Regions from separate parts of the Homo sapiens genome. Here region 1 is linked to region 2. The links are contacts of gene promoters, found by promoter capture Hi-C in blood cells and fetal thymus (Javierre and others, 2016). All regions are on one chromosome and are shown on one strand. The core of a region is centred on a gene start or on the middle of the fragment in contact, and the rest is flanking DNA. Distances in the headings are between cores, read along the strand shown. Region 1 has its middle 51 kb from the start of LINC02105. Region 2 holds the start of NDUFS4 (NADH:ubiquinone oxidoreductase subunit S4).

What was found. The method cuts DNA at HindIII sites, captures the fragments that hold promoters and counts their contacts. A CHiCAGO score of 5 or more calls a contact.
Region 1: a contact is called between a fragment that was not itself captured here and the fragment with the promoter of NDUFS4 in region 2, in 1 of 17 cell types (endothelial precursors). The highest score is 5.2, in endothelial precursors.

What each region holds. Positions count from the first base shown.
Region 1 is chr5:53,867,494-53,874,299 of GRCh38, reverse strand. No RefSeq gene overlaps it. Among named protein-coding and RNA genes, the nearest start is that of LINC02105, 51 kb to the right of the region's middle. The HindIII fragment of the contact is 6,686 bases long and covers 1,545-6,806 here.
Region 2 is chr5:53,555,621-53,562,261 of GRCh38, reverse strand. It overlaps NDUFS4 (NADH:ubiquinone oxidoreductase subunit S4), which reads right to left and starts at 1,623. Exons shown (of 5, transcript NM_002495.4): 1 at 1,502-1,623. The coding sequence starts at 1,599. RefSeq lists an enhancer at 1,222-1,721. The HindIII fragment of the contact is 3,063 bases long and covers 1,475-4,537 here.

The sequences.
Region 1 (6,806 bases), core at 3,638-6,137, 310 kb before region 2:
CAGGTGCAGCTTCACAGGTGTGCAACCTAGTGCAGGGGTCCCCAACCCCAGGGCCACAGACTCGCCTGTAAGGAACCAGGCCTCACAGCAGGAGGTGGGCAGCAGGAGACCATTACCCATGAGCTCCATTTGCTGTCAGATCAGCAGTGGCATTAGATTATCACAGGAGCGTGAACCCTATTGTGAACTGTGCATGCTAGGATCTAGGTTGCATGCTCTTTATGAGAATCTAATGCCTGATGATCTGAGGTACAACAGTTTCACCCTGAAACCATCATCCCTCACCCCTCTCTCCCACTGTCCATGGAAAAATTGTCTTCCACGAAACAAGTCCCTGATGTTAATAAGGTTGGGGCCCACTGATCTAATGCATTCACACAATGTCCTGTGTTCAGAAGGGCCATGTGCTTGGCTTAATGCTCTGCTGTCACCATCTTGGAATTCTTAATAACTTTATTATAGCACTTGTGTTGTATTATAAGTAAAGTCCATGGGACAATGGAGCCTTCATGCAAATAGAGAAGATATTGCAATACGCATGTTCTTGTCTGCCTGTTCATCTACAGCATTTTCGATGTCCCCTGGGCACAGGATTTCGGTGGATGGGCCCGTGATGGACAAGAGTTCAGCAAGGCTCAAAACAGTACAAAGTAGTTGTGTTGAGTCTATGACCAGAAAGAGAGGACACTGGCATACCTCAGAGGCCATGCTTTCCAACTGAACCCGAACTTGTTTCAAATGCAGAAAGAAGGCAATGGCATTCTAAGAAACACCAACAAGCAAGGAAGCCTATCATATCCCTTCTAATCTGTTTAACTTCCCTGTTTTAACCAACCTCTTACACTGAAAATAATGCCATGGAAGGAAGGGGAAGACAGGACAACCCCTAGTTCCTGTTCTTTTCTTCCTTCCTGTCAGTAGCCAAAAGTAGAGTGTTGGTGTAATATACATGTATCAAGAAGTCAAATAAAAACAGATGAGGCTGGGCACAGTGGCCCACGTGTGTAACCTCAGCATTTTGAGAGGCCGAGGTGGGTGGATCACTTGAGGTCAGGAGTTCAAGACCAGCCTGGCCAACATGGTGAAACCTAGTCCCTACTGAAAATACCAAAATTAGCCAGGCATGGTGGCAGGCACCTGTAATCCCAGCTACTCGGGAAGCTGAGGCACGAGAATTGCTTGAACCTCGGAGGCAAAGTTGTAGTGAGCCGAGATTGTGCCTCTGCACTCCAGCCTGGGCGATAGAGCGCGACTGTCTCAAAAAAAAAAAACCAAAAAACAAAAAACAGATAAGTTAGTTTTGTGCAAAATACAAATGTATGTATGAGCTATAAAATCTCAATTGTGCAATTTCAATGATTCTGCATATGAGTTACAACTACAACTGGCATTTAAAACTGACATTACACAGTGAAAAGATGAATGGTAACATTTATGCTAATAATTTTAGTGTGTCATTTTTCTTGATTTAGAATGACATTGACTAGCAAATAGAAATTACCGTGACTAGGCAAGATCAAAACCTTGGAAGAAAAGAAAAAGCTTTATATCAATGTCACTTTTTCCCAGTTTTTTGAACAAGGAGTCCCACATTTCCATTTTGCACTGGTCTCTGCAAATTATGTAGCCAGCCCTGTCTTCAATACACATATGAGCCTGAAACAAACTAACTGGGTTTGAATTTCAGCATTGAAATTACTTGCCGACCTTGAGCAAATTGTTAACCTTGTCAAGGCTCAGTTTCTTCATCTGTAAAATGAGAATATTAGCAATTTTTTTAAACAGAGTCTCACTCTGTCACCCAAACTGGAGTGCAGTGGCATGATCTTGGCTCACTGCAACCTCCATCTCCCAGGCTCAAGCAATTCTCCCACCTCAGCCTCCCGAGTAGCTGGGATTACAGGTGTGCACCACCATGCTTGGCTAATTTTTTCTTTGTATTTTAGTAGAGACGGTTTCACCATGTTGCCCAGAGTGGTTTTGAACTCCTCAGCTCAGGCAATCCACCCGCCTCAGCCTCCCAAAGTGCTGGGATTAAGGCGTGAGCCACCATGCCCAGCCGGAATGTTAACAATTCATACCACATAACTATAAGGTCTTTATATAGGTTAAATGAAATACTATAAGAAAAAAAAAACACTTGGCACCTTGTCTGCCCAGTAGTAGATGCTTAATAAATACTAGCTCTTACAATGGCTGTAGTATGGTAGCTCTTACACACTAAATTGTTAGTTACTGCAGTTGCTCACCCTGGTGTCCCACCATATGACGATGCTGATGCAGTATTGCTGTGTGTACTCTACTTTGCCTGCTGACCTCCCCTTAGCTGACTTCCCCTTTCTGTGATGCATGCAAACTCAGAGGGAAGATATACCAGTCCTTCTCTAATGCAGAGCACTCTTGTTGGACTGATCACTCATAAATCGCTGCTGTCTTATAGATGCAGGTTCCATATAGGGCACCCATCCTTAGTCCCATGGACTATGGCCAGGAGAGCAGGGTCACATGGAACAAAGCATAAAAAACTCCTTGAAGGAGGCCACAGGGGCATGGCAATCCCTTTGATACTTCCCAGCAAGGGGCAAAATAATGAGCAGACACCTTGCTCTGGTAACCCATGACGAAGTCTGGCTGCCCTCTAAGATGGTTTTTGAAACTTTTGGGAATTAAAAAAATAGGTCCTTTTAATGATTTTGATGTCTACTGGGGATCAGGAAGGTGTGTAAGTACACTTCCTTAAATACAACACAACCCTGAAATCATAACACAACCTTTTAAATTCTCAGAAAAAAAACTACACATTGATATTGACATTATACTCTTGACATTGAAATAGCATTACTCCAGTAGACGTCCAGCAAGGTTTCCAAGGGCGTGGTCTGTAGACGACTAGCAAAACAACAAAAAAAGAGAGCCTGGAATACTCTTACAGTGCAGATTCCTGGGCCATGCTCCTAGATCTACTGAATCAGAATCTCTGTGAATGGGAGGCCTAGGAGTCTGTATTTTAACAAACTCCCCAGGCAATTCTGACCATCACTTTTTAATTGTTTGTGGGCAGCAGAGGGCAGAAGAGGGTGGACAATGATGAAGGAGAATTCAGAATAGGGAAATTTGTTTTTTCTAGGTGCTAATAAACTCAACCCGTAACAGCTGTGTTCTTCCTGAAGTTGTGGTTGAGCATTGCCCGGGAGTTGGAGTATGCAGGTCTTCTGTAGTTTTGGGGCTCTGTGTGCCACACTGCTGTGTTGCCCTTTGGAAAAGTCCTTCTGGAACTGGAATGAGGATTTGGATCTGAGGAAGAGGAACAGGGTCATACTGAGGACTCTGAAGAAAAACAGTTTATGACTCAATGGAGAAGATTATGGTATGCTCTAAGCCAACAGATATGAAACTATGTTATACCTACCCTTGTGTTGTAGGAAGATGTTCCAGTGGACACAAGGCAGGATAGTTTTATGGAAACCAATTGCTATATCTTCAACTCACATAGATATTTGTTCCTACAATTGGTCTGCCAGAGATTAGGTTGGCGTTTTTCCCCTTCGCCTTTCCTTCTTCTTCACAACCCGTCTTCTCCCACTTTGGAAAAGAAAGACCTTTTATCATCCCTTGGAATTGATCAGGCCCCCAGTGACCTGAGAGCTGAAAGACTGGCGGTGTTATGGAAGGAAAGGCAACTGGCAGAGTGACTCTCCTGAAAAGAAATTAATGCTTTAACCAAATGCCACTATGCACTACAACAACCTTCCATCCTTATCTTGTCTCAAAGACTCCTGATAACTTGCATTTTCACAGTTACTCTGGCCAAATCATCCAAGTTATCTGAGTGTCAAATAAAAGCAAAGAACAAGGGATTCTCCAAATTGTGAAATGCATTCACATTAGAATGCATTCATGACCCCACCACCTCCTTGCAGTAGACAGGGGCTTGTCATCCTAAGCAGGAATAGGGGGCTATTCTCCCACTTCAATACAGTATCTACAGTATGGGGCTGGAAAAGTCATCAAAGGTATTAGGGGTGTTTACTCCACATTCCTATCTATCTACTGGCCAATTAACATGATTTGCAGCTGAGAAAATAATACTCTTGTCCGTCAGAGATAAATAGGGTCCCCAAACTGTGAAACAAAGGGGAGAGGAGCAATGATGTTTATAAAAGTTATTGCAAACCCAAATGCACTTCAAAAGGAGCTGTGGTGACAGATTCTGTTTCACAGGGTCCTCTCAATTCTTCTCAGCCTCTCAAGACCCTTCCTCAGACTCAGCTGGGTGTTTTCACCACTGGCCTGCTGCTTCAAGATGTAGTGCAATGTGTGGAATTAATCTAGTCTATAGCCTAGCCCTGCTCTGTCCAATACAGTAGCTATTAAACACTGGAAAGGTGGCTAGCCCCAACAGAGGTGTGTGTGTATATAAAACACACACCAGATTGCAAAGACTTAGCACAAAAAAAGTGAAATATCTCATTTTTAATTTTTATATTGATAATATAAAATGGAGCTATTTTGGATATGTTGGATTAAATAAAATATATTATTAAAATTTATTTCACCTGTTTCTTTTTACTTTTTTGCACTGTGGCTACTAGAAAATTTAGAATGACATGTGCCTCCCATTGGTGGCTCACATTATATTTCTATTGGACTGTCTGTCAGTCTGGACTGTGGGTTGAGCAGCCTCAGGGACAGGTTGATGGGGATGTGGAAGTCCAGGCCTGATTGGTAAAGGAAGTTGGGGTGATTTGGGGCTGGCAGTGACCCCTCTTGCTGAAAAGAGGTATATTTGTGACAATTGCAGCATGTGGAGCCCAGCCTAACGGATTGTAATCCTGCCTTCCTTCTGGTTCTAATACTTAACCTCAAAGGAACCTTAATATTTAAACCAAATGGCATGTGAGATTTCAGTAAGCTGATGGATTGCTCTCCACTCAGCCATTTGAGAAATCCTACTGAGGTCTCTGCACAGCTGAGTTCCAGTTGCCTCCATATCCCAATGAAAGTCTGGCACAGCACTGATGAGCTGATGAGATTTTTTTCACTTGTTTGATATTAAATAGGAAAGCCTTTCGAATTAAACGTTTACAGATAGTGTGAAAATTGGAAGTGTGAGTTTTAGCTGAGCCAACTACAGCAGATCGAAAGACTGCACTTGCCTGCTGGTGAGAGAACAGTGCTTCTGGCTGCCATTGTTAGCTCCACCACCACTTTGGGGAAGTGGGAGCTGGTTGCCAGCTTACTCCTTTCCAGAGGTGAATTACTCATATACTGAGTCCACCAGGCTTACGCTATTGTGGGTACAACTCTGTTCTAAACATCATTACCTATGACAGCAACAACTTACTGGCCCAAGCCAAGAATTTAGAGCTTTTGGATGATGAGGCTGAGCCCATTTCAGAACTTGATGCCAGACATTATGCAGGGCCTCTGCATGGGTCCCTCAAATAATAATGACAACAACAATAGTAATAACAGCAAATACATATGGAGCACTTGCTCTGTGCTTTAAATATATTAGCTCACTTCATCTTCAGCCCTATATGACAGAAAGCGTTTTTTACAAAATATTATTCTGTTTTGTTGTTTTGATTTGTTTTTTAAGTTGCCTAAGGTGACATAGTAAGTGGTAGAGCCAGCTGCAAACCCAGGGTTTCTGACCAAAGCCCACACTCAGAACCATACTGCCATTCTTACAGAGAATAAATATTAAAATCTCAGCAGTGATTGTCAGAAATGGCAAAATGACAAATTAGAACATCTTCAGTCATTCAGGGGGACATTGATTCACATGTATGTGAATCAATGGCCCAAAGGTAAATGCTTTTTATTCCAATATGGCTTTTTGGACAAAAAGGACCAGACCAAGTCTGATACAAGTGATACTAGTAAAGATATGAGTGCACACAGACCTACCTGAGAATGGCTTCCAGAGTTTATCTTAGTAGAATCTTCCTAAAATTGGAGGTCACACGGCATAGACAAGGCAATCTTTCTTTCACTATGAAACTCTTTCTTCAAATAAAATCACGTCCTTAGATTAAATGTAGGTATACAAAGGAGAGCTACTCAGACCTCCATGAGCTCAGCTTTTTTTTTTTTTGAGACAGACTCTCCCTTGCTCTGTCACCCAGGCTGGAGTGCAGTGGCGCAATCTCGGCTCACTGCAACCTCGGCCTCCTGGGTTCAAGTGATTCTCCTGTCTCAGCCTCCCGAGCAGCTGAGATTACAGGTGCACACCACCATGCCCGACTAATTTTTTGTATTTTTAGTAGAGACGGGGTTTCACCATGTTGGCCAGGCTGGTCTTGAACTCCTGACCTCAGGTGATCCGCCCGCCTCGGTCTCCCAAAGTGCTAGGATTACAGGCATGAGCCACCACTCCCGGCCGAGCTCATCTATTTCAGCTCCCACAGTATGGCCCTAGGGAAACATACACACAGCCCATTGGCCACGCCAAACAATGCAAAACTACTGGGGAACTGGATTAGGAGATCTAGAGTTGAATTCTACTTCTGCCACTTAACCACTCACATGGGCCTCACTTAGCCTTTGTTCAGTCATTCCTCCCATTAGGTAGCTAAATTCAACCACAATTCCTTAGAAAAAGAAAGTTGATCAAATTGAGCTTTCCTAGAAAGAATCTTCTCTCAGTCCATGTGTGAAAAAGGGAAAGTCTTGTCTTACTGGTTTTTGTTTTATTTTGTTTTGTTTTTTTACCATGCCTCTCTTTCTTGAATTGGAGTAAATAGCCAATCCCTAAATTGAACTCTTACCTCTGCCAAAGTTCCTTGCCTTACCAATTCCCT
Region 2 (6,641 bases), core at 374-2,873:
AAGTTAACCAGTGAAGTATTTTACCTTAGAAAAATACTTAACCCAGCCTGACCAACATGGTGAAACCCCGCCTCTACTAAAAATACAAAAATTAGCCAGGTGTGGTGGTGCGCGCCTGTAATCCCAGCTAGTCAGGAGGCTGCGGCAGGAGAACTGCTTGAACCCGGGAGGCGGAGGTTGCAGTGAACCAAGATCACGCCATTGCACTACAGCCTGGGCGTCAGAGTGAGAATGTATCTCAAAAAAAAAAAGAGAAAGAAAAAGGAAAAATACTTTCCATATATGGAACACTTAATTACAAACATCATTTGCCTTTCCCCAATCTTAGCACCCTTACTTTTGAGTGACTCTATTCTATGTATTTAGTAATCGTTTAACTAATGCTTTCAAGCCTTTTCATAAGCCACGGACCCTACGGGACACTCTCTTCTTTCCCACCCAACACCCACTATATTTAAACCTTAATAAAACTCATCCTTAAAAATTCTTCCGAATTAACTCATCCTAATTCTCTGCATTCCATTTATATTTAACACTAAATCAATTAGCATTCTACTAGACCTTCCTTTCAACTTTTAACCACTTGCATCCACCTCCTACCCCCTTCAAATCTCTCCATCCAGTCTTTCCAATCTTTGTTCTAATATGTGTGTGTATGTACGTATAGCATTAGTACTATAATTTAAAAAACTCCAGGAAATTCTGAAAAATAGAAAATGGAAGGTTAATACAGCCAAAAAAAAAAAAATCATCACAAAAATGCTTCAAGGAAAAACAGTAACAACTCAATCAACTGACAACTGAATCTGACAATACTTTGGAAAAGTACTACTTTAGGTTCTCAAGGACGCAAAGAGCCCTCAACAACTCAATTCAATCCCTGAATTATTGTGAGGCTTTAACAAAATCCCTAGAAAACCTCCAGGCATTACCACCAGCCTTTTAAAAATTACCTTCCAATATTACTAGCAGTGATATTTTTACTAACACTGAATTCCAAACAAGTTTTCCTCCCAAGCAGACTGATGAATAAACAATCTTCCTATGCAGAAACCAAATTAAAACCACTTAAAACCATGGAAGGGATACAGTGATTTAACCCTTCTGTAAGGACTGGAGTGGTGGGCAAACAGGTGACAAATGGAAGGGATGCAGAAAGTGGAAACAGAAATCAGTGAGACTCCTCCCCTTCTCTGAGGGCTAAGGTTCAGCTTGCAGCTCCGGAGGCAAAACCTCCACGGACCCTCTCCCTCAGCGACAAGCCGAATACGAAAGCTTCCAGAAAACCACAGGTCCTCCTCCCCGGCCTCGCACTCACGCCCTCACTCGCCTGGCCAACGCCCATTGATAGCAGACAGTCCCTAGTCCGCCCGACTTCTCCCGAGAAAAGGGTCAACAGAGGACGCCTTCCCCGAGGCCTCCTCCGGAACTCAGCCAGCAGAGACTCCGCAAAAATGGAGGGACCCAAGAAGCTTGAAGAAAAGTGTGAAAATTCTATTACCTGGTCGGAACCCTGGAAACGGAAAGGGCAGCTACAGCCACTGCCCTTCTCCGCCACAACGTCTGCCTCAGTACCACTGACATTGACACCGCCGCCATCTTGCTGCAGGCAAACGCCAGGATGAAAGGACGGATCACCGCAAGGGACTAACTTCCTTCGTTCTCAAGCCAGTGCAATCGCAATGTTGCGAAATTCTTTGGGATTTTATTTTCTTTTTAATACTGGGGCTTAAAAAAAGAGGGGAAACGCTTAGTTTAAATAAGTAAGAAGAAAAATGTGCGGGAAGAAATGCAGAAGTGCATTAACTGTAAATATTACCACCATAAAGTGTAATCTTTACTGCTTGTTAGGACTGGTGTTTTACAATGATAACGAAAAGACCAAAATATACTTGCATATTTAAACACCTGCAACTCGTAATTTATTGAAGAAATTAGGATATTTGGGGCTGAACCCACTGGAAAAGCTGGAGAGCTCTTTGGGTCCTTGAGAACCTGCAGTAGTACTTTTCCAAAGTATTGCCAGATTCACTTTGCAAGCCCTCAGGACAGGGCTGTATTCAGTTTGATATTCTGTAGTAGTAATGTTCGTATTTTCCAAACGAAAAATCTGGATACGTGATCTGGCAAAGGATTATTTTTTGACATGTAGATTTATATGAAGAATCAATAGAACATAATATTTGATGTCACTGTTTCCCCAGTAAATCCTGAATGTGTGTGTGTTCATAATCCATAGACATGAAGAATGATATTAATGCTCCATGCATATAAAACAAAAATTATCTTCCAATACAAGTGTTGGAAACATGTTTGTATTGTGGACTTCCGACCTTAAAGAATAATGACTAACTGAATTATATAAAATAAAAAGCAGGTTAGTTTTGGGTTTTGTTTTTTAAGAAATTTGTTTAAAGAGTTAGTACTTTCCTGCTTTTAAAATTAAGCACATGAAAACATAACCTTCATTAAATAAATAGGAACAATAGGAGGATGGGGAATGACATAGTTTGGCATTATGGACCGTTAAAGGAAAACCCAGTACATAAGGGAAAGGGAGAAAGAAAGAGAAAAAGTCATACTCAGGGAAAGAAATGCACAAGATGAAGGAAGGCAAGGGAGAGATGCCTCAGAGAAAATTTTCTTTCAAACTTTTCATTTTGAAATAGTTATAGATTCACATGAAGTTGCAAAGATAGTACAGATGTCTTGTGTACCTGTTTCCCCCAGTGATTACATCTCGTATAACTCTAGTACAGTATCAAAGCCAGGAAACTGGCATTGATATAAAGTATTTGTGTAGTCCTATGTCATTCTACTACATATTTTGTGTAACCACCACCATGATCAAGATACAGAACTATTCCACCCTCACAAAGATCTCCCTAGTGCTAACCTTTTTGGTAACACCTGCCCTCCTAACCCTAGTGATCTCTGTTTCTGTTTTTATAATTTTGACATTTTGAGATGTTATATGAATGGACTCATGCAGTACATGACCTTCTAAGATTGGCTTCTTTCACTTGGCATAATGCACTTGAGACCCATCCAAGTTGTTGTGTTTATCAATAGTTCATTCCTTTTTTATTGCTGAGTAATATTCCATGACATGGATGTACCACAATTTGTTTAACCATTCACCTATTGCAGAACATTTTGATTGTTTCCCATTTGGGGCCATTACAAATAAAACTGCTGCAAACAATTGAATACAGGTTTTTATGTGGACAAAAATCTTCATTTCTCTGAGATAAATGCCCAGGAGTGCAATTGCCAGGTCATGTGATACATGTATGTGTCATTTTTTAAAGAAATTAAAAACTGTTTTCCAGAGTAACTGTAACATTTTACATTTCCTCCAGCAATGTATGAGAGATCCAGTTTCTCCATATCCTCACCAGCATTTTCTATTATTGCTATTTTTGTTTTAGCTGAGCTAAAGTAAATAATAAATGTGCAGTAATACCTCATCACAGTTTTACATTTATTCCCCTGGTGGCTAATAATGTTGAATATCTTTTCATGTTTTTATCTGCCATCTGTATATTCCATTCAGTTAAATGTCCTTATGTCTTTTGCCCATTTTCTAATTAGCATTATTTGGTTTTTTACCTGTACATTTTGAGAGTTCTTCATATATTAGATGTGTCTTTTGTCAGATGCATGATTCACAAATATTTTCTTCAATCTGTAGTTTGTATTTTCATTCTCTTGACAAGATCTGCCACAGAACAAATATTTTTAATTTTGATGAAGTCCAGTTTATTCATTTTTTAAATTTATGGATTGTGCTTTTGCTGTCATGTCTGAGAACTATTCTCTAATCCTGTATCCTAAAGATTTTATCTTGTTTTCTTTCAAAGGTTGTTTTAGTTTTGCCTTTTACATTTAAGTCTATGTAATTTTTGTGAGTTAAGTTTTCCATTAATAGGTGTGAGGTTTAGGTTCAGGTTTTTGCTTGTGGCTATCCAATTGCTCTAGCACTACTTATTGAAAAGTTTATCCTTCTTCCATGGAGTCCCTTTTGCACCTTTGTCAAAATATCAGTTGGCCATACTTGTGTGTGGCTATTTCTGGGTTCTCTATTTCAGAGAGAAATTTTAAGCCCAAGGGTGGCTTTGGTGTCTGGGTGAATTTTAATAAAGATTTTCTATGTGAAGGAATAATGGGATGTGTCCCAGTGTTCATAAGAGCAACTTCCTATAGCCCTGTTACTGGCCCTACCAACCAAAGCTCAACCTCTCCACCTAACACCTATTCTAGTCCCCAACTTCCATGGATCTGAATTCCCCAGGAAAGCCCCCGGTCTCTAGTCTCTTTGTCTTTTGTACAGCCCATAATCCAACATCAGCATTGCCAGAACCCTAGTGGAATCTTTGATTCCCTTCACTTTCTGCTGGATTCCCTCAGCTGCCCATTCCTGAGGTCCTTTCTGACCTTATATACAGGATATAGGTGTTAGAATGGAACAGAAATAACTTGGTATGTTCATTTATTTATACTATTTCACCTATACCACAGGCTGTACCATTAAGCTTAATAGAATGTCTAGGTCCAAGTGCCATTTTGTTATTTCAATGTGCTGCCCCAGAAGTTGTTAACTACTAGAGTCCACTTCTTTGCCTCTTCTCTAGTCATCCTCCTTGCCCTTCAGATCACAGCTGTGAGTCACATCCTTCAGAGTCACTCCCCATGGTAGAAACTACGTCTTACAGGCATTTTTCACCTCCGCCATCCTTGCTGACAGAGCCTGACTCCTATGATAGAGACTAAAGTTGCTGTATATTGGCTTTCCCATTAGCTCCTGCAGCTAGCACATGAACATGTCCAAAGCCAACAGGATCTGAAATCCCTTTTGAGAAAAAAGACTTCTGAAAAAAAAAAAAAAAAAAGACATACAAGAAGAAATACCTCTTTTCCTGCGTCTGAATGCAGTTATATGAGGACATAATGCCTAGAACTGTGGCATCTTCTGAACTAGAAGGGACAAGCATAAGAGCTTAGCTAACAAGAAGGGGTGGAGGAATAGAGAGAGGAAAAGAGCCTAGGGCTTAGTTGACATCATTGAGCCAATCCTGAACCGACTTTTAAACCAAACCTGATGAAAATACCTCCAAACTTCCTGTTACATGAGGTAATAAATGACTTAATTGTTTAAACCTCCATTAGTTAGATATTCTGCATCCAAAAACATCTTTTCCTATGCTCTTACATGAAAAATACTTCTCTGACTTCCCTTTATGTCAGCTCTTTCTGTAGACTCTCCTAGCATCACATCTTCCTTCTTCGTAGCACCTCTCATGTCTCAGTTTTAATACACTATCATTGTCACTTTCTCTACAATGTAAAGTAAGTTATCTGAAGACAAGGATCATATCTGATTTTGATTATCATTTTCCCAGTATCTAGCCTAGTCCCTCACATATAGCAGCCTCCAAAGGATGTATGGAATAAGTGAATGAAAGTAACTGGAACTTTTAAAATGTCAAAAAAATGAAAAAAAACAGTGCTATCTCTATTTGCTATTTTGCTTAGGAAAAGCTCATACAAATTAATGTGATTGCTGTCTTGGGTCTATAGATCTTATTGGTTTCTAAAATTTCATCTTTGATCAGTTGCCATTTCCTGAAGAACTTGGTGAGATATTGGGGACAGGAGCTCCACGTTGCTGGCAAGAGATCGGAAAAGATAAATTTACCTTTTACTGGGCTTGCATTAAAAAAATGTAATAACCTCTTTCATTTCCTTTTTTCTTACATTTCAAATAAGGATATAGACCTGAGAGTGGAACAGAAATAATTTGCTGTGTGCATTTTTTTATAACTTCAACCAAACTATGCATTCTACCAGTAAGCGTAGTAAAATGCCTATGTCCAAATACCATTTTATTATTTCAAATAGGAGTATTAAAATGTAAATTGACTTTACTTTTTGCTTGCACTTCATCCATGATTGCCAAATGAAACATTTATCTTAGACTTTCTGATGGCATGTGAAAGTTACAGTGGATCCAAAGTTGTCTGTTTTTAATTTTTCCCCTTGCACATGGGTCTTTAGTAAAGCATCCAGAAAAAAATAAATTAAAACCAGACATTTCTATCAGAAGTTTCACATACAATCACTATAGACATGACAAAATTCCACCATCACTTTATTGGCTGCAAACTAATTTTTTTATCACATCTCATTTTTCACTGCTAATTTATTTGAAAAACTTAATACCTTATCATCTTATAAAATTATCATGACATCTAGCAGTGCAGCTGAGGCTTTGGCAACAAATGAAAGAATTTCTACCTATAGTGAAGATCTGTCACTTGAAATTATTTTTGGAAAACAAGAGGTACAAATAATCACATTCTTAAGAACTCAAGGAGTTTTCCCACATAAATTTCAGAACATACTTCATCACCCGCTGGAGTTTCAGCCCTAAATTTTCAACTGCACATAGGTCATTCTCAAACTTAACATATAGAAAACCAAACTAATTCTATTTCACCCCTTTCTCTTGCCCCAAGAAAATCTGTTCTTCCCCTCAGTATCTCTGCCTTGGCAAGATATGTACTATCATCTTTCTTCTAATACATGTCATCAACTGTAAAAGGCACCGTTATTTTCTGTACTATTAAGAAAGAAAACAA